2 separate regions of the Homo sapiens genome follow, and region 1 is linked to region 2. The links are contacts of gene promoters, found by promoter capture Hi-C in blood cells and fetal thymus (Javierre and others, 2016). All regions are on one chromosome and are shown on one strand. The core of a region is centred on a gene start or on the middle of the fragment in contact, and the rest is flanking DNA. Distances in the headings are between cores, read along the strand shown.

Evidence for each region. The method cuts DNA at HindIII sites, captures the fragments that hold promoters and counts their contacts. A CHiCAGO score of 5 or more calls a contact.
Region 1: a contact is called between a fragment that was not itself captured here and the fragment with the promoter of CCDC120 in region 2, in 1 of 17 cell types (M2 macrophages). The highest score is 5.0, in M2 macrophages.

Annotation. Positions count from the first base shown.
Region 1 is chrX:48,925,952-48,928,824 of GRCh38, forward strand. OTUD5 (OTU deubiquitinase 5) reads right to left here. Exons shown (of 9, transcript NM_001136157.2): 6 at 1-99. Among named protein-coding and RNA genes, the nearest start is that of PIM2, 8.4 kb to the left of the region's middle. RefSeq lists an enhancer at 1,506-2,144. The HindIII fragment of the contact is 737 bases long and covers 1,025-1,761 here.
Region 2 is chrX:49,057,588-49,060,296 of GRCh38, forward strand. CCDC120 (coiled-coil domain containing 120) reads left to right here and starts at 1,412. Exons shown (of 11, transcript NM_001163321.4): 1 at 1,412-1,508. The HindIII fragment of the contact is 2,580 bases long and covers 1-2,375 here.

The DNA of each region.
Region 1 (2,873 bases), core at 143-2,642, 130 kb before region 2:
CCAGTCTGTGGCCCGTTTCTTGTCTTCTAGCATCTGCTGTTCAATCCATGACTCCTCCGATGTTTTTATGGCATTCTTCATCAGAGACTGCTCTGCAAACTGCAAGGAGGGAGAGGAACAGGGATGTGCAATAACACACTGAACCTGCCCAAGAGCCAGAACAGGCTCAGCGAGGTAGGCCCACAGGCCCCAGAAAAAAAAGGAGACAGGAAAGCAGGTACTCCCAAAGAGCAACACTCCACAGACTACCTCTTGATTGGGGACCAAGGGAAAGCAGGCTTGGGATGTGGGACCTGTCATTCCAAACTCCTATGCTTGTAAGACCTGACTCTAACCCCCAAACCACCTCAACTGAGGCACTGAGACTGGAGCAGTCAGGTGCCTTCCAACCTGGGACTTATTTTTTTTTTTTTTTCTGAGACGAAGTATCGCTCTGTCGCCCAGGCTGGAGTGCAGTGGGGTAATCTCGGCTCACTGCAACCTCCGCCTCCCAGGTTCAAGGGATTCTCCAGCCTCAGCCTCCCAAGTAGCTGGGATTACAGGTGAGTGCCACCACCCCCGGCTAACTTTTTTGTATTTTTAGTAGAAATGGGGTTTCACCATGTTGGCCAGGCTGGCCTTGAACTCCTGACCTCAGGTGATCCACCCGACTCGGCCTCCCAAAGTGCTGGGATTATAGGTGTGAGCCACTGCACCTGGCCCTGGGCCTTAATTTAAAGAAGCCCCATCCAGTGATGACTGTTTCATAATGTTGAGGACTTTCACACACATGAGCAGATGAGACACATACAAAAATTAGCTATGTGTGCACCGGGTGGAGGGAGTATTCAAGCATGTGAGGGGTTGGGGGAAGTAGTGGGTGTGTGAGGGAATAAGGGGGCAGTATCAACATGGTGTGGGGTGCTATGAGTTACAGGACACTACATCAGAGTACTGTTTTTCAGGCTGAGATCCAACAGCATTTTTAAAAAATAGAAAATATCAGAATATATCCCAGGGAATAAGTGCAAATGTTGTTTCATGAAGCTTTAGTTAACATTATTTTAATGCACATATACACATCACACACAAATGCATATATGCTAAGTAATCATGTAAAATGTATTCTTTTCTTTTTCCTGCAGACCTTGCATTCAGATAAAATGTAATTTTTTACTGTGAATAGTTAAAAACAATTCGTAAAACTATGTTAGAACAAGCCAATTAAAAAAATAGTCAAAAAATCTAACCACTCTGGCAGTGTTAAACACACTCCAAGTGTTTTTTCTACTCTCACTCAACAACAATCAACACAGGAGACTTCTGTGACCAAGTGTGCGGGCTGGGGGGAGGGTGTTTTCCCACACAGCAAGCAGCGGACACCTGGTGTCCATCCTCCAATGCAATTCAATACCCAGAGACAGCCTGGGATCCCACAGGTTGAGGGCTCAGTCCCACAAGACTCCCCCCAACCCCCTTCGAACACCAGTCGAAAGTCTGGGCCTCCAGAATTTCTGACTGACCAGCTATAAATTGGGATTCCCACAATACTTTTTTGGGGGTTCAACTAACTTGCTAGAGCAGCTCACAAAACCCAGGAAACACGTCTGCCAGTTTATTATAGAGAAAATTACAAAGGATACAGATGAGATGCACAGAGTGAGATATGGGGGAAGGGACGTGGAGCTTCCATGCCCTCCCTGGGGTGCCACCCTCTAGAAACTTCCATGTATTCAGCTACCCAAAAGCTCCCAGAACCCAATCCTTTTGGGATTCTTTGGAAGCTTCATTATGCAGGCATTATTGATTATGCCATTGGACACTAGTGATCAACCTAATCTTCAGCCTCTCTCCCCTCCCCAAAGGCTGGGGGATGGGCTTAAAGTTGCAAACCTCTAATCCTGCCTTGGTCTTTCAGGTCACCAGCCCCCATCCTGAAGCTACCTAGAGGCTGCCAGCCATCAGTCACCTCATTAGCATACAAAAAGGCAACACTTTGCAGATTCTAAGGATTTTAGGAATTGTATGTCAGGAAGTCACAAACACAATTCACCAAAGAAGCTATACAGATGGCAAATAAGCATATGAAAAGATGCTCAACAGCATTTGCCAATAGGCAACTGCAAGTTAAAATAATGAGATACCACTACACACCTAAGAGAATGGCTAAAATCCAACACAATGACAGTATCAATTGCTGGTAATGCTGACAACAGGAACTTCCAAATCATTATGGTGGGCATGCAAATAATACAGCCACTTGGGAAGACAGTTTCTCAGTTCCTCATAAATCAAAACATAATCTTACAACGCAATCCAGCAATCTTGCTCCCAGGTATGTATACAACTGATCTAAAAAATTACGTCCACAAAAAAACCTGCATGCACATTACAGAAGCTTTATTCATAATCATCAAAAACTGGAAGCAACCAAGAATGTCTTTTAATAGGTGAATAATTAAACTGGTACCTCCATAAAAGGAACATTAAGTGATAAGAAAGAAACCAGCTAACAAGCCATGAAAGAACATGGAGAAACCTTAATGCATACTGCTAAGTGAAAAGAAGCAGTCTGTCACATTGACCATTTTAATTTCAGGGGGGAAAAAAGCAAATTGGCTGCAGGTGGCTCACCCCTGCAATACCAGCACTTTGAGAGGCCAAGGCGGGAGGATCACTTGTCCCCAGGAATTTGAGATTGGCCTGAGCAACACAGTGAGATCCTGTCTCTACAAAATAAAAATATTTTTAAAGTTAGCCAGGCATGGTGGTGTGTGCCTGTGGTCCCAGCTACTTGGGAGGCTGAGGTGGGAGGATTGCTTAAACCCAGGAGGTAAAGGCTGCAGTGATATTGTGCCACTGCACTCCAGCCTGGGCAACAGTGATACACTGTC
Region 2 (2,709 bases), core at 162-2,661:
ATGCTGGAAATCTCACACCCAGGAAGAAAGGTGGGCAGGGATGGCGGGAGGCCTTAATAGTATGAGTCTGGGGCATTGCTGATTCAGAGTGAGCTCCTCTCTAGGCTCAGCCCATCTGCAGCTTTTCTCACTTCAGGTCATGGTGTGGGCTGCTGCAGGGGTCTGGGTAGGGCTTGGGCCCTGGGTCACAGAGCAGATGGTCCTGAATGGAGCACAGGATGTGTGCTGTGTGCCGGGACTGGCCCAGAGCTCAGGTGGTAGTGGTGATGGTGGTGGTGGTGATGGTGGTGGTGGTGGGCGGGGTGAGGGGAGGCAGGGACAGTACGTCGTAAGGACTCAAAGCTCTCATTTCCTTCTCTGGCATGAAGCCTGACTCTCTGAAGAAGAGAGACCCAGCATGGATGTGAAGAAGCATGAGCCCCCTTCCCTACTTCTCCTTCCCACTTGCAGGAGTAGCCTCTGTCTGCCTCCCAGCCAGGACCCAGCCCCCGGAAATTCTGATTTCACCTGCTCTTCTGCCACTGTGATCTGAATCAGGCCTCTTCACCTTTCCAGGCCTCAGCTTCTGCATCTATAAAATGGCTGTGAGGAGGCTGGGTCTGTGCCATCCTGCTACATTTGTAGGAACCAAGAGGGATCAAAACCCATAAGTGTTTTGTAGGGTGTAAGTTGTGCTTGATTTATTGAGATTATTTCTTCTGGAGCCACAGAAGGATCTTGAGACCTGACCTCTCCTTAGAAAGGTTGACTTCCTCTGTCCCCAACTTGGGAAACTATTATTCCCCAGTGAGGGTGGGAATTGCCCCAAGGCCTTCTACCACTGCCTTGCCCTGGGAGGAAAGGGTAGGGGCCTCAGAATGTGATGCTTAGTGCCAAGACACAAAAACTCAGTTTACACCCGAAGCCTCCCATGTACTTTACAGCTCCCCACACCTCTATGGCCCAGATCCAAGTTGCCCCTTGGGTGGGCAGCGTCTAATCCTCTGGGAATTTGGGCAGTAGGAGAGGCAGCTGCTACTCCCACCACTCTCAGCCCTTCTTCCCAGTTTTCTGCTAAGTGTACGGGGTGAGGAGGCACAGGCCTCCATGCCTGGCCAGTTTTAAAAAAAATTTTTGTAGAGATGGGGGTCTCATTATGTTGCACAGTCTGGCCTTGAACTCTTGGCTTCAAGCAATCCTCCCACCTCAGCCTCCCAAAGTGCTGAGATTACAGGCACCAGCTACCCTGCCTGGCCCAGGCTGTCTTCTTAGACATGCTGAGCACCCTGAGTGGACCTGGCCCTGAAACTGCCCCCAGGGGTGACCCTAGTCCTGGTGGCAGACAGGCAAGGGTTAAAAGGTGTGGGCCGGCCCAGTTCCTGGCCAGGTAGGCTGGGCCATTACCTAGTGGGAGGTGGCCAAGGCATCTGCCACTGCTGCTGACTGCCACTACCAGCCGGAGCCAGGGCCTGGTCGAGACAACTATTTTTGAGGTATCTGAGGCTACCCCACAGCACTCTCTGGCATTGGTGAGCACCTGGGAGCAGTGGGCCCAGGGTGCGAGGGGGATAAGGGCATTGGGGAGCTGGGGCAGGGTGTACTGAAGTTCCCTTCGGTAGAGAGCTAGGTCTGTGGGAGAGGCACACCAACAATGCAGGGCAGGGTGGTGGTGGGGGGGTAGGGGGGCAGTGAGAATGGAGGGCCTGAGGACAGGGGCAAAGCCCAAAACACCAATTTCCTTTCCTGGCACCAAGCCGATTCCCGGCCGGAAATGGACGAGGAGGGATCGGGGAAAAGAGAAGTATGAGTCCCCCCTTCTCCACCCTATCCCTGCTTCCTTTCCTCCCCGCCAGGAGTAGCCTCTGTCCTCCCCCAACCCAGGGCCCAGCTCTCCAAGAAAGACCAGACTGGGCTACTAAGAAACCATTACTCAGGCACCTGCCTGCCTATGCCTGATTTGTTCACTGCAGTGGAGGAAGCAGGGGCTCTGGGGAGGGTAATGGCCCAGACATTGAGATTTTGTATTTGCTCTAATAGTGGCAGGATGTGGAAATGACCCCCCAACTGTTGGGGTGCCACCCAGGTGAGGTATCTTGGTTGTAAACAGTTATTACAGCCAGGAATTTCTTTCTCGGCTGTGGTGTCAGAATGGCAGACCTGAAAAACCTGCCGGGCCCGCCTCTGGGTGTGGGGGGTGCCCTCTACTGCTCTCCCGCTGCAGCTGGTCCCTGGGACAGGATGGGGGCCATGGGGTCACTGGTAGGGGGAGACCTGGGGTTGGTGTGGGGGTGTGCTGGGGAGGGGTTTGCTGGGATCCCTTTCTCGCCATCTGGGCGGGGATGAGGCAGCTCCAGGCCCCAAGGCAAGTATGCAGAGGGCAGGTGAGCGGAGGCAGAAGCTTAGGAACTGGGTGTGGGGGTGTGGGGCGTTGACTGTGTCTAGCCTGCCCAGTGACCCCATGACTCATACTCTAACTATGTCCCCCCGAGGTCGGGCTGATAGGGAGGAGTTGGGGTTCCTGTGTGGACCCTGTCTGGACTTCCAGGACGCTCTGAGAAATTAGAGAAGAAAGGATTGGCTGGGTGCAGTGCCTCACGCATGTAATCCCAGCACTTTGGGAGGCCGAGGCGGGTGGATCACCTGAGGTCAGGAGTTCGAGACCAGCCTGGCCAACATGGTGAAACCCAATTTCTACTAAAAATACAAAAGTAGCCAGGCATGGTGGCGTGC